Regions from separate parts of the Homo sapiens genome. Here all the other regions are linked to region 5. Evidence: promoter capture Hi-C in 16 types of primary human blood cells and fetal thymus (Javierre and others, 2016). All regions are on one chromosome and are shown on one strand. Each heading gives the region's core, a stretch centred on a gene start or on the middle of the fragment in contact. The rest is flanking DNA. Distances are from core to core; before and after follow the strand shown.

Region 1 (4,643 bases), core at 1,743-4,242, 290 kb before region 5:
ACATAGTAAAATACATACAATTTTATGTCGATTAAAAACAATAAACTAAAAAAAGGAAAAAGAAAAAAGCATGGAAAGCAAAAATAGTAACTTTAAAGTGAAGCAACTTGGCAGATATCATCTTAAATGAGCCAGTGATTAAGGTTAGCATAGCCAATAATATATCATGTTGCTATCATGTACTTCCCTGATACAATGCAATGAGAAGTACACTCCATCACTTCTGTGGTATTCCTGCAAAAATCACACAGTCTCAATCTAATCATAAGAAAAGCATCGACAACTCAAATTGAGGGTCCTTCTACAAAGCATCTAACCAGTACTCTTCAAAAGTGTCAAGGTCATAAAAGACAAGGAAAGACAGATAAGTTGTTGTAGACTGGAGAAAACTAAGGAAACATGATGAGTAAATACAATATGGTATCCTGGACTAAATCCTCAAAGAGAAAAAGGATATTAGTGGAAATGCTGGGGAAATCTGAATAAAGTCTGTAGTTTACTTAATGGTATTGTACCAAGGTTATTTCTTAGTTTTGATGAAAGTACCAAGGTAATGGTAATGCAGATATTAACATTAGGGGAGGTTGGTTAAAGAGTATATGGGAACTCTCTGTGCTATTTTGCAACTTTTCTATAAATCTGAAATTATTTCAAAATACAAAGTTTTAAAAAGAGACAATCTTGATATGGTTACTTAGTTGTGGCAAAAAGGTCACAAACATCTAAGCCACAAACATCTGCAGGGTCACTTAAAGTATATTCCTAATATTTTTATTTAATGATTAAGAGAATTTTTTCATACCATGAGAACGGGCAGGAGGACCCTAGGGAAATACTTGCACACGTGCACCAAGAGACATGCAAAATAATGTTCATAACATTTTTGTAATAAAAAGCTGGTAACCCAAATATCCACCAGCAGCAGATTCAATAAGCTGTAATATATTCATATAGAATACTATATAGCTATGAATAGGAATGAACTATAAACACAACCTTTTGATGAATCTCAGAATATAGTATTTTTAAGGGGAAAAACTAGAAAAAAGTAGGAGGTTACAGTATATAAAGGAACAGGACACTCAGTGGGAAATTATTTTCCTTAAAACAGCAAGAAAATGATTGACTCAAAGCTCAGGATAATTTCTGCAGTGGGTGGGAAATGGGAAATGAAGTAAAGGTATCTGAGAGAGGCACACAAAAGGCTCCAAGAGTACCAGTAACCTTACATTGTTAAGGTTGAGTAGCGGGTACTAAGTGTTCCTTGTATTGTTTTGTTTTATAACTCATACATACTTACATATTCTTTAATATATACTACATATATATTTGTAACTACTAAAAGGGTAAAGGAAGAAGTTCACCTTTTAACTTATAGCACATCCTGACAAATAAACAATTTATTAGGTGCTAAAATTTTTTCCATCTCTATAAATTCCAAACTTAGAAGGTTACATTCATCTTTCTTGAATGAATCTAGAAAATAGCAATTTCTAAAAACCAATGCAGAAAGTATTACACCCATTCAGAATCTATAGGGTAAAACAAGCTTCACTAATTAATGAAGTCTAATGAGAAATCTGCCTTCTCCATTTAAAAGAAAGAACCTTTCCTCTATCTTTATTGCCATTCTGGGGTAAAGTATTTTCCCTTCACAAAAACAAGAAGTTTGTCTATGCTGGGAAAGATAAAAAAGAGAAACCCATTTGAGCTGCCTCAAATAATCATGAATACTCTTGCCTCCCTTACAGGACCAATGTTAACTTAGTACTCCAAGTAAAAATGTCTTCTGATTTTGAAGTATCTTATGCATCTGTCTTCAAAAGCCCCAAGTTATTCATAAAAAGCCCTCAAAATTTAGAAATGTTTAAATAACATTTTTAACTTTTAAATAATATACTTAAATAGGATCATAATTTAAAGCATAATTTGGATTAAAAAAATAAAAAGTAGTTATTCTGTCAGTTGAATTACTCTGACATTGGTATCCTGACTTCCTGAAGCTAACTAAAACATTCCTGCCATGATGCCAGCTTCCTAGCCAGGCTTTCTGAAAGAACTAAGGGAGCTCAAGTTCCCCCAGCTGAACAGGAGCCAAAATATGAACCACTGCCTCTTCTGTGCAGTTGTAAGCAGGATAAATTGCTCATAAATCAAAGCTGTCTTTATTGATCACAATGACAACAACCACACTAGCCAGATGGTCAGTCTTCAGGGTTCAGGACATACTTTTAAGGTAAAAGGAGCTTCAAACTACAGACCTTGGAAACAGACTTCTTGGAACCACATTATCCTTAAATAAATAAACAAACCTCAATTTAATAAAGAAAAATTACAGATAGCTCTAAGAAATACACTTGACTACTCAAGTATTCCCAAAATGACCATGGCAAATGTTCCTGGGGTTCCTCTTCCCTATACTCACTTATTTATTTCTCCATTGAGCACGGGCTTATCCCTGCCACAAGCTTTACCTTCATAAATCATTGTTTATTATTTCATGAGGGTAAGAGTGGTATTTGTCTTGTATACTACTCACAAATTTGGAGTCCTGTATTTAGTAACAATAATACTAATCTTGATTATGTAGATCAAGCATTCATAGTACAGTGAAGTATAATCATAAATTCACCACCAGGAAATGATTTAAAAAAAATCCCCACCAGTGGCTACCCTATCAGAAGGCTTTATTAACCCACTCTAGGAAAAATGTGGCAATGTGGCAATTCAATGAAGTGTATACTTTTTTGTGGCCCTTACTTGGCCTAGCAATTATTTATTTTTAAATAAATCACATAAATGAGAAATCATTTAAAGCAAGAGTCTCTGGAATGCATTCCCATCTGGTCCCAGCCCTTCCCTTTCCCAGCAGAATGGAAAGACTGATGAGTCACTAACAAACCACCCACAGCCATCTATTTTTCACTGCCTTCAGCAGTACCCATTTCATGTGTGGGGCAAAGAAGAATTTGAACAAATCACCATTCTTCTTCCTACCTTTCCTACTACTGCCAGATTGTTGGAGGGGAAAAATGAGTGGGAAAGATTATCCAAGAAGGGCAGAAAGAAAGGCAGGATGGAAAAAGCGGGCTGAGGATGTTGAAAGGCTCAAGAGGCTCCTGGACTGTTATTATATTGAATTTCTAAGAAGAGGTTGAGAGGTGGTGACAGGGATATATCAATTTGGAACACGTAATTTTCCTAAAAAGGAAACTATTCTTTCATTCCACTGAAATACTGTATTCAGCAGGGTCAGTCCAAAACTGTTCAATGCCCCAACCCATCTCTGTGTCTTTCTGGTTAAGCTGGCAGTGAGGTGACTGATTATTCATACATTCAGTCATCCTTCCTTATTAGCTTACTGCCTGGTCACACCTGGAGATCAACTGGGAACAGGTGTTTCACTCAGAGTGCCTTCCCATTTGCTTCTCCTTGTTCCTGTCCTAAAGTACCCACCCTTACAAGGAGAGGGGAAAAGAGCATAAAGTGATGGAATGGGTGCCCCATCAAGCTTTGTACAGTCAGTCTTACAGTATACTGTCAACCCCAGTTTTGCCGGGCATGTGACTTCTGGAACTATGACAACAAAATCTCAGTAGAACCAAACTACCAAATACCTTTTGAGGTGCAGACTGATATAATTTTACCAGAGAATTGTGAAGTGGTACATATGGCCTTATTCAAACCTAGGCTGTTAACAATTAAATAAAAAAGTATTTCTGGGTACAATAGCGTGCATCTGCAATCTCAGCTACTCAGGACGCTGAGGCAGGAAGACTGCTTGAGCCAAGGAGTTCAAGGACAGCCTGGGCAACATGGTAAGACCCCATCCCTAAACAATAAATTTAAAAATATTAAAACTCTGGAAATAAATTTAAAAAACAAATTGCTAAAAAAGTTTTATAAGCCTAATAAAGAATGCTTCATTACATACCTTTCAGTAATATTAAACATGAAAGTCAATGTGTGACCTCTTTAAGCAAAAAATTGGGCCTAGAACTCAAACAAAAATAAATGGTTTTCCCAGCTTCAGAGAAATAGTATGAGAAACCAATGTAATTATAAAATAGTGGGCATCCTACTGGTGTAGGTACTTTCTAAATTACTGCTCTATTCTATCATTAGGATGAACCCAGGACTATACAAAACACTTACCAGGAGTCAACATTCTTAGGTGTAAATGCCCAACAGGAATTGTATAGGATGGCCAAAGGGCTTTAAAGTGGGAACGGAGATGCTTTGGTTACAAGGACTACCAGGGCAACAGTGCTACAATTTTGTGAGGTTTGCCAGCAGGTTCTCCTTGCAGGCAGCATTACAACTAAAAATGTCAAAATATCCTACATATACCTATTACTCTCTATTCCTACTGCAACTGTGATTTTTTTCAGACTACTTCAGTATTTCTAGTCAAGGCTAGTCTTAACTTCCACTCCCATCTATGGCCTTATCCTTTCTCTTCATTCCTAAAACATGCTTTTGTCTTCTGCATAGCAAATACATATTCTTATCATACCCCCATATATTTCTTGGTTCAGTGTGTTTATTGTACTGACACTAAGTGTATCAGATCAGAACCAGTCTGTCTCTCTCAGGTTGCAAATCCTTTCAGAATGCACAGCAACACCATTATCATCTACCCT
Region 2 (4,229 bases), core at 576-3,075, 420 kb before region 5:
CAACTCATGGTATTTCCAACACACGATGGGTTTACTGGGGGTGTGATCCCATCCTAATTCAAGGAACATCAGTACTCAGTTTTCCTAGCCACGTTCCAGCCAGCAATGGCCATGTTCTGGTCAGTGGACGTCACAGGGAAACACTTCCCTTTCCAAGTAAAAAGACAAAGGGTCTCAAGGAAAAGACTGGCATTCCCCCTTCTTCCTGTCTGGAGCAGTCTTGCAAACAGGAAGCTTGAAGCTGCATGCTAAGAATGATGGAACAGGATGATCCAAAGCAACTGATAGCATCTCAGAGCAGCGGGATCAGTCTTGGGCTGTCCACCTCCACACTTCTTGTTATTTGAGGAAAATAAAGTCCAACTCATCATTTAAATACCTTATAGTTGGATCTTCTGTTAATTGTAAAAGCAAAACAAAAGCACAATCTTCTTCCTAAATTGTACAGGTATGATCACACAGAGACACCTAAGATCCAGCATATTTCTTCACTTCTGATAACAAAGAATCACAATTAAAGTGTTATTACTTGTTTTGGTGGTGTGGGGAAAGGCACAAAGAGGAAGACTTCAAAATCCCCCACAATTTCCAGAACCGGGGATAGAGCTGCTGATATTGTGTTGTTTGAATTACAGACTTCCTATTCCTTTGTATTCAGGGATTTTTCAAATTTTGATATTTAGAAGGCTGGATGAGACTCAAGTCTCCTGACACAAAAACTTGAATGGTTTCACTTCTCAAACATTTCAGTCGAATGTTTGCCAAAGTTTTTATCTCAGGGAAACTATTTGCTGAGTTTCTAATATTATGTAAAATACCAAAGTAAGACTTCCCCCAGGGGATTATATTACTATTTAGTTTTATATTTCTTCTGATGCCTCCAATAAATCATGAACTTCTTCAGAGATGTCAGAGGGCAGTCTGTCTCTTTGACTGCAAATGACAAGCCATGAATAATGCACACAGCTCTTTCACAGAGAGGCTCCCAAACCATACAGCCTATTGCCTTTGTCTCTGGCTTGCTATTGGACAAACTGCTTCCATGGAGCCTGGTTTCTGACTTGCTGGATGAGCTCTAGGCTGGTCAACCATTATGAATCCCTGGGGTCAAGCACACCACCACAGTATCTGGGGTATCAAGAGGTGGCTCCAACTTCCAAAAGAATGAAACTAGAATACTCCAGAGAAGGCAGCCAGTGTGTTCTAATCTTCTCAACTAGACTAGAAACTCCTTGAGGGCAGTCTTGGTTCTCTAAATTTCCTAAGGTAGTGCCTAGATCTTAATAGTGGCCTTATTAATATTTATTTTATGGAAGAATGAACATGTGGATGGATGGATATGTGGTAGGTGGGTGGGTGGATGGATGGATGGGGTTACCCTAAAACTTAAAGTATAATAATAATAAAATAAAATAAAATAAAATAAGAAAAATTAGCAGAAATAAGACTACCAGTATCTAAGATCATAAAGAGTAGAGAAAATAGTAAATAAAAGCTTGTTTACTGAAGAGTAGCTCAGGAGAAACTTCATTAAAATGGCAAATGGAGAAAATATAAGTATAGCATTACTTTACATAGCAAAAGGACAGTTTAGAGAGCCTACTCACTTGAAGGTAGGGCGAGCATAATACTTTCTCCAATGTTCTTTATCCTAACACATATTTTCAACATGCTTTCTCCCTCTTCATTTTTTATTGAATTACCAAAGTAGCCGTGTATACTTTTTTTGAGACAGGGGTCTCACCATGTTGCCCAGGCTGGTCTTGAACTCTTGGCTTCAAGTGATCCTCCTGCTTCAGCCTCCCAAGTTGCTGGGATTACAGGTATGAGCCACTGTACCCAGCTTAGGAACAGTGTATACTTACCATCAACACAAATACATTAGAATCTGGCTTTCTCTTTAGCCAATCTTTTGAATCTGCTTTTAAATACCTCATTAATGGCCTCCAAGGTGCAATATCTGTCTAAAACATCTTATTCTCAGATTATATGATGTTTTAACACTTCTCACCACTTCTTAAATTTGCCGTGTTTCTTCTTTCTTAGTTTCTACTTCTCTGCATTCTCTTACTCCTTCACGTACCCCATCCTTACCCTACTTTTTTTTAGGTTTGCTGCCTCCTCTGAGCCCACTCCTTCCCATTCAATAAGCTTTTGTCACATTCTGCCTTCATCCTCTTCTCTGCTCATGCTACAGTCCTCTGGTGATCTCATTCACACCTCTAACTTCAAGTATCCTTTTAGAGTAGATGGTCCCCATGTGATGTCTTTGACCCCAAAGTCTAGACTGTATGTCTTCATCCACCCTTTAATTTATCAAACATTTATAGTGACCTTGTCATGCATGATGTTACTAAAAATTGAGTACCAAGAAAAACTTGACTTCCTTTAATGAATCAAAGTTTAGAGAGGAGACATAAGTAAACAACAATAATGAAGGATAACAATTGCCACCATAGAGGAGTACCCACCAAGGAGACCTCAAAGGAAGGGCCAAGTGGCAGGTGGCCCGGCGGATGCAATGGCAAAGGGCATTCTAGGCCGAGAGAAGAGTAAGGGTATGAAGACTCAAGAGAGCTTATATTTGTCACCTAGTAACTGTCAGTTTCCTGTCAAATGCCAGGCACCCTAATAGATGTTTTCACAAAATAATATTACCTCACATTCACTCAGTGATTATTAAATACCAGGCACTTTTCTAAGTGCTTATCATAGAGTATCTTACATAATCTTCATACAACCCAAAAAGATAAACATTATTACCCTCATTTTACAGATGAAGAAACTAAAACCCATCTGCAAAGTGAGCTCTGTGACTTAGTTAAGGCTTGAAACAGCAAGCAGCAGAGCCAGGGTCTTAGGACTGTGTTAGCTCCATGAAGCAGAAATTCCTCAGGTTAACAAGTAGAAGCAGACCTTATTATAAGGTAAGCAGGATGTCTCCTAGAACTCAAGAGTAAGAGCCATGAGAAGCTGGAACTAGGTCTGGCGAACCAGCAGATCAAGGCAGCTACTTTCTTTCTCCTTCCCTCATCAGATTGTGCGTCATCCCTGCTCCTCACTAACTAACCACCTGTTCCACCCTCCTGCCTCTCTCTGCAGCTGCAGACCGGCCCTCTCGCCTTGCTCATCATGCTCCATCATATCATCATGGAGGCTCAAAAATGGCTTCCTTGTCCCCCCAGACTACAGCACCCTTACAAGTCCAATATACACAAAGACTGATCATAGTCATGTCTACTAATTCCAAATTCTCATGAGAGAGATTTGGATTCACCAGCTCCTATCAGGTAACAACTCCTGACCCCATCAACTATAGCCAGGAGCTGGTAGAGGTGGATTAGAAAGTACCAAACATGGATGCAGGAGAGGCAATTCTCAGGGAAAGATGCATGGATTGGGCACACATCCTCAAAACATGTCTTTTTTTTTTTTTTTTTTTTGAGACGGAGTCTCACTCTATCACCCAGGCTGAAGTGCAGTGGCACCATCTCAGCTCACTGCAACCTCCACCTCCCAGATTCAACCAATTTTCCTGCCTCAGCCCCCCCAACTGGGATTACAAGTGCCCACCACCATGCCCGGCTAATTTTTGTATTTTTAGTAGAGACGGGGTTTCACCATGTTGGCAAGGCTGGTCTCGAATTCCTAACCTCAAGTGATCTGCCAGCCTCAGCCTCCCAAAGTGCTGGGATTACAGGAGTGAGCCACCACGCCCAGCCAAAACATGTCTTTTATAGTTTAGGTTCCATCCCAGGTGTTCTGAGTTCAAGTCATATTTTTTTCTCTATGCCACACTACCTTATCTTAAACAAAGCATATCTAAAATCAAGCCATGCCCCCTTAAACAAGCCCCTCTTATTTTCCTAATTCAATTACTGACTTAACATCAGCTCACCCTTTCTGTTTAACATTTCAAAGTTAACTTCAATGTTTCCCTTACTTTAATACCCTACACCTAACATTCTGCCCTAAAAATATTCAAAAAGGTCTTCCAGATTAGTCACTTTTTCCAACCCCAAAGATCATCTGCTGTTTCAAAATGCAACAGTGACTATCATGACTTGTAAACCAAAGAGCCAGACCAACATTTTACTCAGAAAGCCCAAGAGTAAAGCTGTTTGGTGAAAGCTGGATTAAGCTATTTTAGGCTGAATCAAGAAAATTGTAGGAACAATTGTTATTAATAGTATACAAAAGAAAACTAGTAGCAGATGCAGGATGACACA
Region 3 (4,592 bases), core at 982-3,481, 260 kb before region 5:
CATTTTCACCACTGTTTTTTGTTGTTGCCGTTTTGTTTTTTTTTTGTGTTTTTTTTTTGAGATGGAGTTTCACTCTTGATGCCCAGGATGGAATGCAATAGCACGATCTCAGCTCACTGCAACCTCCACCTCCCAGGTTCAAGCGATTCTCCTGCCTCAGCCTACCGAGTAGCTGGGATTACAGGCATCCGCCACCATGTCCTGCTAATTTTTTGTATTTTTAGTAGAGACGGGGTTTCACTATGTTGGCCAGGCTGGTCTCAAACTCCTGACCTCAGGTGATCCACCTGCCTTGGCCTCCCAAAGTGCTGGGATTACAGGCGTGAGCCACTGCGCCTGGCCCTCACCACTATTATTCAACATAATACTGGAAGTTCTAGTTAAAGTAATCAGACAAGAGAAAGAAAAAGAAAGAAAAGAAAAGAAGAGAAACGGCATCCAAAGTGGAAAGGAAGAAGTCAAATTATCCTTGTTTCCAAATTACCTTATATTTGGAAAAATCTAAAAACTCCATTAAAAAACTATTTGTTCTGATAAACATATTTAGTATAGTTGCATGATACAAAATCAACATACAAAAATCAGTAGCATTTTTATATGCCAACAGCAAACAATCTGAAAAATCAAGAAAGTAATCTTATTTACAATAGCTACAAATAAAATACCTAGGAATTAACCAAGGAAGTGAAAGATCTCTAGAATGAAAATTATAAAACACTAATGTAAAAAATAAAAGAAGACACACACAAAAATGGAAATATACTCCATGTTCATGGATTAGAAGAATCAATATTGTTAAAATGTCCACACTACCCAAAGTAATCTACAGACTTAATGCAATACCAATCAAGATGCCAATGACGTTCTTCACAGGAACAGAAAAAAAAATCCTAAACTTTGTATGGAACCACAAAAGACCCAAAATAGTCAAAGCTATCTAAGCAAAAAGAACAAAACTGGAGGAATAACATTACTTGACTTCAAATTATACTACAGAGCTATAGTAACCAAAACAGTACAGTGCCAGCATAAAAATAGACACTTAGTAAGTGGAATAGAACAGAGAACCCAGAGATGAATCCATATATCTACAGTGAATTCATTTTTGACAAAAGTGCCAAGAAAATCCTTTGGGAAAAGGACAGTCTCTTCAATAAATGGTGCTGGGAAAATTAGATATCCATATGCAAAAGAATGAAACTAGACCCCTGTCTCTCACCATATACAAAAATCAGATCAAAATGGATTAAACACTTAAATCTAAGACCTCGAACTATTAAACTTCTAAAGGAAAACTTTGGGGAAACTCTCCAGGACACTGGGCTGGGCAAAGATTTATTGAGTAATATCCCACAAGCACAGGCAACCAAAGCAAAAATGGACAAATGGGATCACATCAATTTATTATTTAAAAGCTGCTGCACAGCAAAGGAAACGATCAACAAACTGAAGAGACAACTCGCAGAATGGGAGAAAATATTTGCAAACTACCCACCTGACAAGGGATTAATAACCAGAATATACAAGGCTGTGCTCAAACAACCCTAGAGGAAAAAATCTAATCGATTAAAAAATGGGCAACATTGATGACATACTGGCTAAAGAAAATGTGGTACATATACACCATGGAATACTATGCAGCCATAAAAGAGAACAACTTCATGTCTTTTACAGGAACATGGATGGACTTACAGGCCACTATTCTTAGCAAACTAATGCAGTAACAGAAAACCAAATAAAACATGTTCTCACTTATAAGTGGAAGCTAAATGATGAGAACTCATGGACACAAAGAAGGGAACAACAGACAATGGGGCCTACTTGAGTGTAGGAGGAGAAAGAGGAGCAGAAAAGATAACTGTTGGGTACTGGGTTTAATACCTGGGTGATGAAATAATCTGTACAACAAACCCCCATGACATGAGTTTACCTATGTAACAAATCTTCACATGTACCCCTGAACCTAAAATTTTTTTTCATGTGATACATATGCACAATGGAATACTATACAGCCATGAAAAAATGAGATCCTATCATGTGCAACAACATGAAGGGAACTGGAGGTCATTATGTTAAGTGAAATAAGCCAGGCATAGAAAGACAAACTTTGCATGTTCTCACTTATTTGTGGGACCTAAAAATTAAAACAACTGAACTCATTAAGAGAGTAGAAAGATGATTACCAGAGGCTAGGAAGAAAAGTGGGGATGGTTAATGGGTACAAAAACAAAAACAAAGACAGAATGAGGCCAGGCACAGTGGCTCTAGCTTGTAATCCCAGCACTTTGGGAGGCCAAGGCCAGCAGAACACTTGAGGCCAGGAGTTTGAGACCAGCCTGGGCATCGTGGCAAAACCCCATCTCTAATAAAAAATAAATAAATAAATTAGCTGAGCAGGGTGCGCCGGTAATTCCAGCCACCTCGGAGACTGAGACATGAGCACTGCTTGAACCTGGGAGGCAGAGGTTGCAGTGATCCAAGACCCCACCACTGCACTCCAGCCTGGGTGACAGAGCAAGACTCCATCTCAAAAGAAGGAAAAAAAAAAAATAGAACGAATAAGACCTAGTATTTGTTAGCACAGCAGGGTGACTATAGTCAAAAATAATTTAATTTTACATTTTAAAATAACTAAAAGAGTATAACAGGATTGCCTGTAGCACAAAGGATAAATGCTTGAGGTGATTGATATGCCATTTACCCTGATGTGATTATTACATGTTCCATGCCTGTATCAAAATATCCCATATAGTCCATAAATATACATACTCACTATGTACCCACAAAAATTAAAAATTAAAAATTAATCATCATTATAATCAATTATCAAATCAAATTGTTCTAACGTGCACCTCCCTACACACTCTCTACCACCACTCCCCGGCAGCCTCTGTTCTACTGCTACTTAGTCAGTATAAAACATGGATAATGCTTAACACCATGCCCCAATTCACTGTGATATCAAAAAAAAAAAATTGTGTTCTGGTAAAAAAAATACTAGAAACTTCTGTATGGAGAACATTTTAAAACCTTATTATAAGTGATCTTTCTTCCTATCTGATGTTAAATGAGTCATCTACTGGTCTAGGAGCAAGTGAAATGTCTACAATATTGTTAAAACTTTCAGATATATAGTAAAAAGCTGGACATTAGTATCATTTTGTAGGTCTTTCACATGCTCCATCACTTAATCCTATTCTGTCATTAGACAATGTGCTGGTCTCTAGAGCATGTGTTAGGTTCTTTGTACAGTCATTTTTTCATTCTTTATCAATTAATTCAATGTGATGCCCTCCAGGCAAAGATGAAAGAATTTAAAGATTACTCTTGCAAATTAAAATGTTTGGTGTTCCTAAAATAACCATAAAAATATCTGAATAGATTTTACAGTTTATAAAGTACTTTCTAATGTATATGACACAACAATCCTGTGAGATATGATCTTCGTGTTACAGGTTAAAAAACTGAAGTTCAAAGATGTCAAATGGTTAACCCAAATCCATGTTTCTAGTAAAGGGCAAAGTTGGATCTCAACCCAGACCTTCTGATTGCAATTTCTAAGATATTTCTATTGATGAAACCACAACTACTTCTAACACAATTGCACACCTAACTCCAGCCCAGATCAACCTATTGTATATCCTGTTCTGTAATTCATACAACCAGAAGGCAAGGGCCACAAACTACCATTGTCCTGAAGGGCACATCCCTCAGAAGAAAAAAGCCTTTCAGGAGAGGCTTGCATTGTGTGGACAAGGCATGATATTCTAGACCAGTGCTGTCTAATAGAATTTTCTACAATGATGGAAATGTTCTATACCTGAGCTGTTCAATATATTAGCCACTAGCCACATGTAACTATTGAGCACTTGAAATGCATCACTGAGAAAATGAATGTTCCATGTTATTTAATTATAATTAATGTAAATCTAAATAGCCACATGTGGCTAGTGGCTGCCTTACTGGGCAGCTCAGTTCTAGACCTTGAAGACTGGAAGCAGAGCTTAATATTAACATCCAAATGGTATAGCCTTGAGTACAAATGAAAATCAACTTAATAGTGAGCCCAGAGCACAGCACTGATTTACTCAGTGGTTCATGAGAACTGTAATGGATGTGATACCATCAACAGTAATATAACCAGTGAGATAATGGTAGAATTATCTTTCAATCTTTCTAAACCTCTCTGGTGAGCCAAATCCAAAGAGTGACTAAAGACACCAAGGCATGTTGATAGTATCAAATACAAAGGGCAAATAACTTTAATCTATAGGCCACAATGGCTTTCCTGAGAGAAAATTCATTACTATACATGGAAACTAACCCAACTAAGTTATAAAGAGGAGGCCGGGCGTGGTGGCTCATGCCTGTAATCCCAAAACTTTGGAAGGCCAAGGCAGGGGGATCACCTGAAGTCAGGAGTTCAAGACCAGCCTGGCAAACATGGTGAAATTCTGTCTCTACTAAAAACACAAAAATTAGCCAGGCATGGCGGCGCACACCTGTAGTCCCAGCTACTCAGGAGGCTGAGGCAGGAGAATCGCTTGAACCTGGGAGGTGGAGGTTGCAGTGAGCCGAGATTGCACCACTGC
Region 4 (4,703 bases), core at 2,050-4,549, 340 kb before region 5:
GCCCTTATCTGATATGTAGTCTTCCCATTCCATTTGATTTGTTGGTGCAGTCAGTCAACATGAAAGATACATCAAAAACAGCCCAACCTCACTGGAAGCCAGGTTCTGTAGGAGGTCACCAGAGCCACCTCCTCTACCTCTCACTAACCCTCCTCCTTTTCAAGAGAGGGAAGGAGAGAGTTAAGGAAAAACTAAAAAGTTTTAAATCAGAGAAAAGAAAAAAAGGCACAATGATAGATGCTTTCTTATTTTGAGATACAAAAAGGCAAAAAGGACTGTCAATAGCTGAAGGAATGTGAACTGTGGTAAGCTGCAAGAACATTTTCCATGTGTTCTGCACTGGCTGCTCAACTAAGCCAGTTAAGCATAAGAAACATAAAAAACCGTTCATAAACAGTTTCATGGCTCATCCAATAGTCCTGACTCCAAAGTCTATATAACTCTATTTCCAGAAGACTCAACTGACACATAATAGTGACTTGTAATAGTGACTTATTTTATTCTAATACATAAAACATATTACATCTATTGCCAAAATTTTCCGAAACATGTCCTACGTTATATTAACCTTGTTTCTATAGTTGTCTTAAGCTGTCCAGGGTTGCTTTTTATTTTCCATTTATTTATTCTGTTTCCTGACTAGACTGTAAGCTCCACAGTAGCAGAGCCTACAATTGAGGGCACTATAAACAGCAGATTCTTGTTAATTTGTCTCCTATTCAACTGTCCACCATCCATATTTACGCATAAGTGCTTCCCTGAGCCACTGATACAATGCCCCTCCATTCATTTGCCATGAAGAACCAATTTAGGACAAAAGACAATCAAGAGTCCACTAAAATATAATCATATTTACCAATGATGATTAGTATAGAGTGCTGATGGTCCGGTAGACACTTAAGCACTATACTTGTGTAAGAATTCTAAGAAAACTGGCTTGTAATATTTCATCAGATTGGAACTGTAATTTTATTCAAAAAAACAATTTCTTAATGCACTGACTTTTCTGTGGAGTTCAGAAAGAACTTATGATGGGTGTTGGGTTTCCTAGAGAACAGAATGTTTCATTTTGCTCTAATTCATTCTATTAGTGAATTAAACTTTGATGTATTGGTCTTGACAAGTGCTTCATGCTGATTGTATTGTGTATGATAGTATAATCACTCCCCATGCATTTCCCACTGGCTGGCTGATTAATGCAATAGATTACCTGCAGCATTGATGGCAAGGGAGAATCATTGCCCTTCTGTACTCTAAACTGTTTGTATTTCAGAGTGCATGTGTGTGTGTCCAGGCACACACAGGCACCCATGAATATTGTGCACATGGGTGGAGAAGGCTAGATAAAGCAGAAGAAGAAAATGGAGGACTCAGTAAAGATTAATACCTTTCAATCATTGTTTTCAGTACATCAAAAATAACTGCTTCTTGATGTTTCTAAGTAAGTGTCAGCATTACACTTCAATTATTCATTCACTTTTTAATTCACAAATATTTACTGAGCTTCAATTATAATATCAGGCACATATTTTCACCTTTATAGGAAAAATAAAAATTACTTTCACTATTTTTGGGAAGGAGTGGAAAAAAGGGGTAAGATTATCAAATAGACATTAATACAGGAATAAAAAGAAGATTAAGAAAGGATGGGTATGACATTAGTTTAAATTTGCCAATAAAGACAATAACTGACGATACTACTATTAAATACAGTGAGTGGTTAATGGTTTCCAAACACACAGGCAAATCTTTCAAATTATGTGGTCTACATATGACCCTAATGCTTAGCAAAGAATATCTTCTAGTGCATGGTCAATCTGTTCTGGTGAACAGGTTGCTGGATATATTAATCTCATCTTCAAAGTGGCGGGGGGAAACAGACTTTGTGCTCTTGGGAGCATTTTGGAAGTATTCCTCCTAACAGGATTTTCTCTCCATTCCAAGCTTATATTTGACCCAAGTGCCCTGTTTGGGATTCTTCCATTCAACTCATTCCACCCTTGATCATACACAAAGGAAGACTATGGCTTCCAATCTAAGCCACTTCAAGGTCTCTCTCTGATTCCTACTTTATTAATGTTTCTCACTCTCTTCTCCAGGTTTGCTGAAGCAAATTTTGAAATTTATTAATCTAGCTAGTCATAGCTTAAAATCACAGAGATTTGGCTTTCTATTTCAAAGGTTATCTTTGCAGCAGAAAGCACAGAGAACTGAGTGAGTTACCTACATTTTTCAGACAACTAGTATCATTACCCTGGGTATTCTGTCAACCAGATCAAAGTCTAAGAAAATAGCCCTAAGACCAGTTATTAACTCCCTGAAGCAAATTAACATCAGAAGGCTCTAGCATTTTACTATACAGAGTCTTTTTCTTATATTAATTTTGGAATTTTAAAATAAAACATGAAAACAGTGTTATACAATTATCAGACAAGCTTGCAAGCAGCCTCACAAAAGTTCACTTGCTGCAAATCATCTGCCATCTTGCCTTCCCCTAAAGTATATAGGAAAAAGCTATTTATATAAATTTAAAAGTCATCCTTTAGTACAGCAGTCCCCAACCTTTTTGGCACCAGGGACTGGCTTTGTGGAAGAAAATTTTTCCACGTATGAGTACTGGTGGCGGGGGCGGGGTGGCAGTTGCCGGGGCATGGTTTTGGGATGAAACTATTCCACCTCAGATCATTAGGCATTAGATTCTCATAAGGAGCACGCAACCTCGATCCCTCATGTGTGCAGCTCACAACAGGGTTTGTGCTCCTATGAGAATCTAATGCCACTGCTGATCTGACAGGAGGTAGCACTCAGGCAGTAATGCTCAGTTGCCTACCACTCACCTCCTGCTATGTGCCTCAGTTCCTAACAGGCCACGGACTGATACTGGTCCACAGTCCGGGGATGGGGGAACCCCTGTTTTAGTACATGTCTAACAAGAGTACCTATTAAAAGCCTACTGAAGATAGTGATTATCAAGCATGCATTTATAATATCGGAATCCTTTCCTCCAGAACAATCTTGATGAAAACCCTAGTAGTAATGTGGTAAAGTCACACTGCTCTGATTGAGAAGGATCTGCCTCGTCCCTTCAGCACTCGCTTCCCCCTGACCCCAAACCTAGGGGCTCTGCAGGGCAGTGTCTGAACACCCCCCTCTAAGGACAACCATTTCTAACTTCCTTGGGTTTTCCTCCCCATCATGAGCCTAACGAAGCTTAAATTAACTATGATAGCATGTATAAAGCACCTTGCTTGATATTGGCACATACACAGAGCTGCCTAAGGAGCTGCTTCAGCCTTCCCTTTGCTTCCACTTCTTTCCTTCCTGCTCCTGGCATCCCTGATTCTCTGTGAAGCCCCTGGGAATCCCAGATGGCTTAAAACGAAGCTTCTCAGACCTCATTAATTTTTCTATGCTGCCACTTCAGGGTAAGAAATGGTGAAAGGAAATTTTCTTCCCCAGCTTGTCTTGCTTCATTTTCACTCTCGCTCTCCCCCTCCACCCTACCATGATAGTACTCTCTAGATCCACAGCCTAGTAAGGAGACTTCCCTAGCCAGAATTCCCATTGGTGGACATTTCTTGAAGGCAAGTGCGGTCAGTACTATCTCTTAGGAAACAGGAAAAGTAGGGAGAGAACCTTTCTAAGAATTATGAGAAAGAAGAGGACACCTTATACCAACGCTATGACATTCCTATTAACCACTAATGTGAGAAGAGTATCTACTACCAATGGACTAATGCTGTAAGTAGAAAGATGACATAAAAGAAAGTAACTGGAATCGATTCTTGATACAAATAAAGCTACTAACACACAACATATATAAGACAGTAACACTCAAGTGTATTACAATGAGCCTTAAAGCATCTTAATTCCTCACCAAATCTCCATGTTTAGCATATGGTTTCATAAAAACACACAAGGAGGTGAATCTCCAGTGTTGTTACAAATTATCTAATTCTATACAGAAACAGTTTAGACAATGGATACTACTAAGAATTTCCAATTGGTTAGACAATAGGATCAAATGACCTGTAAAGTCTCTTTTAATCCTGAAAATCTATTTTTTTAATTCGTATTTTAAAGTTTTTCTCTTTATTTCCACTCTTCCCTATACAGGTAACTGAATGGATAATTAAACCCTAGCAGCCACAGTCAAGAGGATAGTTGATAGCAGTACACAGCAAGTATTTATCCTAGGTTTGCCCATACATTCTCTCTTTTGGTTTACTTCTGACCCAAACTAGAGATTACTCTGTTTACTTAAAGAAGCAGAAAATAAACCCCTCTTTTCCACCCCCACAGCAGGGCAGAACTCCGAGGTCTATGACCCAAGAATACAGAGTTCTGAGTTTTAAGAGACAGAAAGCAGTAGGACAGCACAGGGAAAGAAAACATGCCCCAGTAATGAGGACCTAGAAGCAGATGAGCCTTCTGAGAACAGTGCTGGAGGGAAGTAAAGCCTTCTCAGCAATACAATTGACCAATCCTCTGTATTTACAGGAAACTCTGAACAAGGCAGAGAGAAGCAGAAACTGAGACCAGAGTATACAACCCCATCCCAGCAGGACAGCTTATGTCAGGAAGGGGTCTGCAGAGCCTACAGAGCCATATGAGATAAACTAGTGCTGGCAACTCTGTGGTCATTATCAGCGCCTAGTTCAGGCCAGGGCAAAGACAATGAGCTAAGGGTCTTCACCGGCTCC
Region 5 (4,285 bases), core at 1,339-3,838:
CGCGGTGGTGGCTCACGCCTGTAATCCCAGCACTTTGGGAGGCCGAGGCGGGTGGATCACGAGGTCAAGAAATCGAGACCATCCTGGCCAAATGGTGAAACCCCATCTATACTAAAAATACAAAAATTAGCTGGGCGTGGTGATGCCCGCCTGTAGTCCCAAGTACTCAGAAGGCTGAGGCAGGAGAATCGCTTGAACCTGGGAGGTGGAGGGTGCAGTGAGCCAAGATCGCAGCACTGCACTCCAGCCCTGGTGACAGAGACTCCGTCTCAAAATTAAAAAAAAAAAAAAAAAAAAAGACCTTAAGAAAACTTGCAATAATGTTTCTATCAAATACCTTACTATGCTATTTATTTAAGAAAAATGACCAAATCCAGTCCAATTTACAGATTTTAAAGCTGAAAGGGCATTGGAGATTGCCTAGTATGCTTTCCACATATCTAAGTGGAAACACACTCAGAGTGATTTATCAGAGTATACATAACATTACTGTACCACAACTGTGAATCTCAGTTCACGAGCTCAGACTTCTCTTTATGGAAAGTAGTTCACAGTATTTGAATCAATCCTGACACCACCTTTAGTTAAGGCAATGCAGACTGCAGTAAGGAGCTCCACTGTGGCAACCCCTATGCTGTTCCTGGTCTTGCAGACTGTCCTGTAACTTGAAGCTAGATGAGCAAACTTAGATTGTAAAGGCATGGTCTAGATCAGCAGTCTCCAACCTTAATGGCATCCAGGACTGGTTTCGTGGAAAACAATTTTTCCATGGACGGGGATGGGGGATGCTTTCAGGATGAAGCTGTTCCACCTCAGATCATCAGGCATTAGATTATCATAAGGAGCGCACAACCTAGATCCCTCGCACATGCAGTTCACATTACGGTTCGCACCATGAGAATCTAATGATGCTGCTGATCTGACAGGAGGCGGAACTTAGACGGAAATGCTCACTCACCCATCGCTCACCTCCTGCTGTGCGGCCCCGTTCCTAACAGGCTGCAAACCAGGTACCAGTCCGTCGTTGGGGACCCCTGGTCTAGATTACAGCTAAAGAACTACAAAGGCTTTCTCTTTATATGCCCTTCCTTCCTGCCCAAGACTTCTGGGCTTTTAACTAGGGATGCAGCACTGCAAGTATCCGGAGGCAGTAACTGGGAAAACCACCTATCATGATTAAAATAAAACACGCATTGGCCTCTGGAACGAAGGATGTTAAAATAATACATTCTGCCCACATCTTGGATTCAAGACTTGGGGAAGTTTTAGAAAAATCAGTTATCTCAAGTAAGTATTCAGTGCACACAATCCAGTGACTGAGTCTACTTTTTCTGGCTACTAAGGTACAGGCTAGGCCTAAGCAGCATAGGCTTTGAAACTATCATCCAGGTTTTCAAATAAAAAGGAGTAAGAAAACAACTGCTGGTAATACAACATTACAAACATTAACATATGCCCAACGAACAGTATCGTAGATCGTTAGATTATCTGCCAAAAGCCTGTTCCCTGGTAAATAACAGTTATTGTTGTTTTACCTAAACTAGTTAAACATGTCGCAGCTTGCTCCTGAAAGAGAACATTCTATAGTCTTTGGAGAATCAGTGAAGAGGTCTTGCAACATTTGTCAGAGGTAGTCAAACAGTGCAAGCAATCACAAAATTTGGTCACCAACCAAACCAGATTAGCTAATCTTTCAGTTCCTGTAGATTAGAAGACAATATTAACTCACCCTTTCTGCATGTTGACTTTTGCATCCCTTTATTTGTGTATTGAAAGAACAAGCACCTCTATGGGAACTCTATGCCCTGACAGTTTAATTACTTATCAAGTTTACTCTGGGCCGGTATTGATCATTCTTTCGTGAAACGAATTAGATACTTAAATTAAAAACAAACAACAAAACCCCCCTTTTCACATAGCATGGCGGCATGTCCCTTGGTAACAAGGTTGAGTGGATCCACCAAGGCCCAGTAGCTTGCCTCCTTTTCGTAAGGATGTAACTATTGTCCAACCAGAAGAGAGAGGCATGGAGTGGGATGTGCACCAGGATGAACTCGCCGGAATCGTCAAGAGTCGTTGTGTGACCCTCACCTTGACTTCGGGCGTTTTGTGGGGACCCAACTGCTTTCTTGCCGCTGCTCTTTGGTCTGAGTTTCCCTCAGCCAAACACTTCACCCACCCATGACCCTCCAACTGTCCCGCTACAGCAGGGGATGGGGGTTGTCTTCCGATCGACCTCGGGGGGCAAAGGCAAAAGTCCCTAGCTGCTTCGGAACCGCTCCTCGAGTCCTGAAGCCGCTCCACGCCTCCTCGCCCACCACTTGGTCCCCGCAGGACGTGGCAGTCTCGGGCTCCAGCCTGGAAAGGAGCCCGCCCGGGTGCCGTCACCCGCCCCGCGCGGCCTCACCTGCCGCTCCCCGGAAATCTCAGCGCTGCCCTGCCCCCGCCCCCACCCTCCCGCGTCCTCCAACTCGAGGTCCCAAGACCCACACAGCAATGGCGCAGCCGGAAACTGGGCCCTAGACTTACTCACGCCCGGCTGGCGGCTCGGGTCGCCTGTGGGCGGGACGCAAAGGCCGCGACTTCCGCCTTCCTGCTTCCGGTCTGGCGGTGAGTGGGGAGTGGGATCCGATCCCGTGGGGCTATGTAGGGGAAGTTGGTGGCTGCAGCTGCCGTGGTTTTCTCCTGGTGTCCAGCAGAAACGGCGGCGGCGCAAGGTGTGGCTGGGCCAACCCAGGATCTCCCAGGACCCTCCGCTCTGCGCGACAAGGGGCCCGCGCTTGCCAAGGCCGACGGGCAGGAGTGAACGTGGCCTCCGTGGGTCTGCAGCCCCGATAGGGTAAGGAGGGAAGAGTGAGCAAGGGAGAAACGTAAGGAATAAGGGAAAGACAAAGGAGGAAGTGCGGACGGCCGTCAAGTGCTACCCGTTGCAGCCGCAGGGGCCACGCGGGTCTGGTTGGGAGATCGAGCCTGGTCGATCCGTTTTGGGCGGAAGAGTAGGATTTATTCCTGAAAGTGTGGAGGCGCGAGCGTTTGGGTCCGAAGTTGAGTTGCAGGGAGATGTGTGGCCTGTGGACCATGGCTCTTTTACTGCAAAGTTCTTTTGCTTATTTCTGAAACTTACATTGTTTATTCGCTACTGGGCTGGAGAAGGTGAAGGCAGATCGATCTCAGTAGTACCTAATTCTAACTGTATGGGTGAGGTCGTATGAAGTCCAGGAGCTAAGATATTTAACGTATTAGGCACTTTCATGTGTGTTCAGTTGAAAATCGTGGGGAAGATATAATTAAAACTAGTCACAGTTTTCTTGGGGTAATGGGACTGTGGGTGAATTACTATAATTTGTTTGGTTATGTCTTCTAATTTTTTAAGTAAAGGACACAAATTGTATGATGGACCCAAAAAAACCTTTATAAAGAGTAAGATGAGCTGTTTGATTTTGTAGTGGTGTACCTAATCCAGTAAATAAATGAGTGGCAACATTTTTAGTATAAAAATTGAAAATCTAGGAACGGATACGCTGTGTAAGTCAGTCAGTGAGCCAACTTGTCTCCCGTATGTCAATGAACTAAAAAAATTTTATTATTGAAATAAGTAACTTAGTAAAATACTTGATTTCCAGTAATTAGGATTTTCTTACAGGGCATTTGCAATTGTAAATTCAAATGAGGAAGAAACGTATTAAGTTACTATACCGGATAGGCAATTTTAGATGTCATATAGGTTGCATATATACAATATAGAAATTTTCCATTTAAAATTTTATTACAATTATCCTGAAATTGTGACTTAAATTTTGTTTTATTTTTTGTATTCTTTCCAACTAGCCAATTGTACAGAATTTAAACCGTCTCTCAGATGTGTACAGTAGAACTCAAGAAGACAGACTACCAAGGGTCATCTGAAGTCGTGATTGGGTCACTAATAACACCAGGACAAAGTTAAGGGATCACTACTCAAGCATAAGGTAGATGATTTTTTTAAAAAAATTCCAGTTGAAATTGTAAGTGGATGTATATACACTCATTCCCTACCCAGGTATTCTAATTCTCCACTTTGAATAGCGGTTGACACAAACATGAAAGGGAGAAAAGCCTCTGGGGCAAAATAGAAAACGTCACTCAAGTCACATAATCCTCATTTGCCAGTTGCCTTTTCCTTACACTCAAAAAGGAACAAAACACATGGCATCTGTTAAGGCTACTTTCTCATTTATTAAATTAGGCTTATTCCAACAGAGGTCCTCAAAGCTGAAAGGGCATAAAATAGCACAGTACTTTTTGC
Region 6 (4,542 bases), core at 458-2,957, 470 kb before region 5:
CAGTGAGCAAGAGGCATGGAGCTTCATGCAGCGACCAGTCTAAGGGATCCTGACCACATGAAAACCATAACCACCAGTTGCATTGTAACACCTGATTTCCAACAGTGGCCCCGGGTGAGGCCTCATGGTATTGGTGATATAGATAAATGAGAGAAAATAGTTGCTGTTAATTTAAACAAGTTACATTTAAAACATTGACCAATCAACATCCCTGTCTACCCTCGGACAACCTAAAGAACTCTAGTGGTGTTACACAGTAAAAAGCGGGGTAGTAGGTGGTGTGTTACATTTTCTTAAAAGAAAATTCAAATTGGCTACTAGAGTTTTTGACCTCACATTGACCATGGGCAGACTGTGTCTTTTTAAACTCATTTCCAGAGTGCTTGAATGAGGAATGACATTTTTCCTCCTAGTGTAGACCTGGTCCCGAGTTATTTCCTATGGCTACAATGACTATTCTAAGGAATGGAGAAAATAGAGATGGATGGATGTTTGATGGGAAATTTTACACTTCTCGTGAGTCTTTTTTTTTGTGGGGTTCTGTATGTTTGCTCAATTGCAATTACCTGTGTCTTTCTTCTGTGGCTGGATTAGTAACTATTCAATTCATCCAAAGAATAGAACAGTGCCACTAAAATGAGTGTTCTTCTCCCAACAGGATACTTAGGTTTTGACTGAGTAATCAAACTCTGCAAGAAATTTCACCAACATATTTATTATACCAAGTGACAGGAACAGGAGATATGTTTTGTTATATAATATATTATAACTAACTAGAAGAGTAGACCACAAAAACTTCCTTAAACATGAAAGTCACACCTGCCCATGTTCCTACGTACATGCAGTGATAAATTTCTGTCCCCATTTCACAACCAGGTTTACCAGATGACCATGCGAATAAGAAGCATATAAAGCAATAAGTATACTTGAGTGAAAGAATAAAGCATTTTTAAAGTTCCAATTTTTCCACTGAATCATTGCTGCCAATTGTTGAACTATGGGTAGGGAGAGTGGTCTGTTCTTGTTATAAGGCTGGGATTTGCCATATAAAAGTGGGCCTAGACAGCACAGTGAAGCGAATTCTATAATTTCTGCAATTACAATTAAAATCTCTGTTCCCCCTCATCAAGCTTCTAAGCAGACCTACTCACAGATGTTACCCTGCCTCATTTGAGGTCCATTTCTATTTCCCACCCTCGGTGGAGCTGCTAATAAACAGTGAAATGGCCAAACCAAAGAGAGAAAAGAGAGAAGAACCAAAGGCCAGAATCATCTATAAGTTGAATAACTTGTACTTGAAAAACAGTGGTTTAACAGTAACCAAATGAGAGTATGTGCCTGATTTGTCCATTCTCTTTCAGGCTGTCATTTCAGGTCCTGGCTTTATCCTACCTCACAGGCCATGTTATTGAAATAGAAAAGCCACATTAATTTGGTGGAGGCTTCTTATTTGATGTCCTTAAAATCACATATAGCAGTGACTTTTTTTTACAGCATCTTTCACCTTCTTGCATGAGGGTTTTCCTTAGGTGGAGGGCTCTTGAAAGTACTTTGCATTTCATTCTCCCAGGATCTCTGCTCTGACTCTTGATACATTAGTCACAGTTCCAAGAGGGAACAGGGTAAATGACTTCATAGTCAAAACCCAAACCTAAACAGATGGTTCCTTTATCCCAAGAAAATGCAAAGACTTGTAGGTCTCCTGTGGTAATGGGATTTGGCCTGAACGTTAAGGGATACCAGAGTCAGCAGGCTGGGATTCAGGCCTGGGAGCCAGGCATCACGGGCTTTCTTCTTATTTCAACTCCAGGCCAATTGACTATGTGGTCTTCCAGCCAAGTATTTGCCCAGGATATGCTAAAATGACAAATGCCTGAGAAAACCGTAGGTAGGCTGACCCCATTCTCCAAGTGTGGCCTTGAACTACCAAATACATCAATTCACCGGAGGACTTGTTAAAAATACAGATTCCTGGAGCCTGCCCCTGGAACTCACTGGAAAATTTTATGCTCACTGAATTATGAGGACCACTTCTAGACTCTTCCTACTCAAAGTGTGGTCCTGACACCAGCAACATCAGCAACACCTGGAAGGTTGTAAAAGATATAGAATCTCAGGCCCTGCCCCAGACCTACGGAATCAGAACTTGCACTTTAACAAGGTCCCCAGACAATTCCTTGAAGTGTGAGAAACATTTTGCTAGCATGGTTTGGCCCTGTAACCTAGTTCTCATCAGCTGGGAAGTGAGATGCAGCTGGGAAGAGCAATGCAACAGGAAGCTTCTTCTCAACCCTAATCTGCATATTAGGATTCACTAAGGAGCTTTTCACAATACTGACGTCAAGGCCCTACTACAGGCTAATTTAATCCAACCTCCTGGATTAAGAGCTCATCTAATTCCAATGTGTAGCCAGAATTAAGAACCACTGTTCTATAGGAGCAAAACTCAGAATCAAAGCTTAAAGCCCTTGGTACTAACTACCCAGCCAAGTCCCACTCCCCTAAAAAGCAATCCGGCATTTGCTTGAAGGGATTCCTAAAATATTTGCCCTTTCCTAAGAAGAGGCAGCATCGGCCTTTTGAATGGCTACTCATTGTCCATGCTTCATAAAAATATGCTGGGCCTCCACTCCCCGGGAGCTCGAGGGCAGCGTTCCCGTTTCTGTTTCCTTTGTTAACCAAGTCCCAGCTCTGGGCTTCCTCGGGATGGGAAATGGCTCCTTCTGAGGCAGCGTTTCTCTTTGCCTTTTCTGCCCCTGGGATTTGTGATTCTGGACAAGGCATATGCCTTCTTACCATGTCATTTTCCTCATTTGCAGAGGGAAAACACAGTGTCCATTGATTCCTTTGGTTAAGCTGACTGCTGCCCCTGGCTCACGTCCAGTGACTATTTCTCTGTGCAGCAATCCTCAGCTGGGGGCGAGCCAGGAGGGAGATGGCTGCCCACTTAAAGCACAAGCCCCGAGTGCTCTCCGTCCTGTGAGCTCTCCAAATGCCAGCTTGCTCAGCTGATTCACTTTGACGCAGGCAGGTTCATCAGAAAGCCTTGGAACAGGTTGGAGAACAGAAATGCCACTGGATTCCTTTGAATTGTGTGCATTTAAGTGCAGGCTCCAGTAGATCCAGGCTCTAGGACTATAAGCCTTTCTTTTCACAGGAAACCCTCCTAATTGGTCTGATAAACTTTCTGGGACTCAAAATAGAACCACAGCACAGGGAAGTATCACCTTTGTGTCTCTAATTGTTGATAATGTCTGTGTTTCTTTTAATATCTCTATATTACATGCTGTTGCCATCATTCTCCATTTCTCTTTACCCGCTACTACTAATAATATTGAATGCTTTGCTGTGTGCTGAAGCATTTCACATTTGTATTATCACATTATCCTCACCACCATTTTGAGAGGTAGGGGTTATCATTGTACCCATTTCACAGATGCAAAACTGAGGTTTAAATAAGTTCAGTAACTTATTTGTTTGTCCCACATTCCAGGGAGTAAAAGTGACAGAGACTGGCTTCATCCAGATTTATGTGATTCCAACATATGGGACCATAAAACAGGTCCCGTTCCTGTTTATAAAGGTTTCCTGATCCCACTCCCTCAGTGCTTCTTAGGGCCAGGGTCTCCCACACTAAATCTTCCCATCTGGATCTGTTTGTTTGGGGCTTGGCCATAGCATATGGTAGAGTCAAATGGATTCAGGACTAACAATGAGGATAAGGGAGTGGGGAAGGGAGTAAACTTAGATTCCTATTTCTGTCAGATACCAAAATTAATTCCATATGAACTAAAACTTTAAGTGAAACAAGCCGGGCACAGTGTCTCATGCCTGTAATCCCAGCACTTTGGAAGGCCTAGGTGAGTGGATAACTTGGGGCCAGGAGTTCAAGACCAGCCTGGCCAACATGGTGAAACCCCATCTCTACTAAAAAATACAAAAATTAGCTGGGCATGGTGGCTCATGCCTGTAATCCCAGCTACTCAGGAGGCTGAGGCAGGAGAATCGCTTGAACCCAGGAGGCGGAAGTTACAGTGAGCAGAGATTGTGCTACTGGACTCTAGCCTGGGAGACAGAATGAGACTACATCTCAAGAATGACAGCAAAGACAAAAGCTATAAATTAAAATATTACAAATTTTGACTGCACAACATTTTTTGTATTATTATACTTTAAATCCTGGGATACATCTGCAGAACGTGCAGGTTTGTTACATAGGTATACATGTGCCCTGGCGGTTTGCTGCACCCATTAACCTGTCATCTACATTAGGTATTTCTCCTAATGCTCTCCCTCCCCTTGCCCCCACCCCCCAACAGGCCCTGGTGTGTGATGTTCCCCTCCCTGTGTCCATGTGTTCTCATTGTTCAACTCCCACTTATGAGTGAGAACATGGAGTGATTGATTTTCTGTTCCTGTGTTAGTCTGCTGAGAATGATGGTTTCCAGCTTCATCCATATCCCTGCAAAGGACATGAACTCATCCTTTTTTATGACTGCATAGTATTCCATGTGTATATGTGCCACATTTTCTTTATCCAGT

The links. The method cuts DNA at HindIII sites, captures the fragments that hold promoters and counts their contacts. A CHiCAGO score of 5 or more calls a contact.
Region 1: a contact is called between a fragment that was not itself captured here and the fragment with the promoter of SMIM15 in region 5, in 1 of 17 cell types (monocytes). The highest score is 6.7, in monocytes.
Region 2: a contact is called between a fragment that was not itself captured here and the fragment with the promoter of SMIM15 in region 5, in 1 of 17 cell types (activated CD4 T cells). The highest score is 5.3, in activated CD4 T cells.
Region 3: a fragment that was not itself captured here is called in contact with the fragment with the promoter of SMIM15 in region 5 in 1 of 17 cell types (monocytes); the score reaches 5.2 in monocytes.
Region 4: a fragment that was not itself captured here is called in contact with the fragment with the promoter of SMIM15 in region 5 in 2 of 17 cell types (total CD4 T cells and total CD8 T cells); the score reaches 5.8 in total CD4 T cells.
Region 6: a contact is called between a fragment that was not itself captured here and the fragment with the promoter of SMIM15 in region 5, in 2 of 17 cell types (total B cells and total CD8 T cells). The highest score is 5.6, in total B cells.

What each region holds. Positions count from the first base shown.
Region 1 is chr5:61,448,604-61,453,246 of GRCh38, reverse strand. All of the region lies in intron 1 of ZSWIM6 (zinc finger SWIM-type containing 6), which reads right to left. Among named protein-coding and RNA genes, the nearest start is that of ZSWIM6, 120 kb to the right of the region's middle. The HindIII fragment of the contact is 1,043 bases long and covers 2,471-3,513 here.
Region 2 is chr5:61,579,120-61,583,348 of GRCh38, reverse strand. No RefSeq gene overlaps it. Among named protein-coding and RNA genes, the nearest start is that of LINC03122, 57 kb to the left of the region's middle. The HindIII fragment of the contact is 656 bases long and covers 1,498-2,153 here.
Region 3 is chr5:61,418,875-61,423,466 of GRCh38, reverse strand. All of the region lies in intron 1 of ZSWIM6 (zinc finger SWIM-type containing 6), which reads right to left. Among named protein-coding and RNA genes, the nearest start is that of ZSWIM6, 89 kb to the right of the region's middle. The HindIII fragment of the contact is 6,718 bases long and covers 1-4,592 here.
Region 4 is chr5:61,500,833-61,505,535 of GRCh38, reverse strand. All of the region lies in intron 4 of ZSWIM6 (zinc finger SWIM-type containing 6), which reads right to left. Among named protein-coding and RNA genes, the nearest start is that of LINC03122, 130 kb to the left of the region's middle. The HindIII fragment of the contact is 174 bases long and covers 3,213-3,386 here.
Region 5 is chr5:61,160,771-61,165,055 of GRCh38, reverse strand. It overlaps SMIM15 (small integral membrane protein 15), which reads left to right and starts at 2,588. Exons shown (of 3, transcript NM_001048249.4): 1 at 2,588-2,839; 2 at 3,829-3,968. It overlaps SMIM15-AS1 (SMIM15 antisense RNA 1), which reads right to left and starts at 2,740. Exons shown (of 4, transcript NR_109908.1): 1 at 2,530-2,740. RefSeq lists enhancers at 1,900-1,959, 2,000-2,099, 2,630-2,889, 2,960-3,039, 2,525-3,421 and a silencer at 2,340-2,449. The HindIII fragment of the contact is 8,836 bases long and covers 1-4,285 here.
Region 6 is chr5:61,629,995-61,634,536 of GRCh38, reverse strand. No RefSeq gene overlaps it. Among named protein-coding and RNA genes, the nearest start is that of LINC03122, 5.5 kb to the left of the region's middle. The HindIII fragment of the contact is 1,149 bases long and covers 1,133-2,281 here.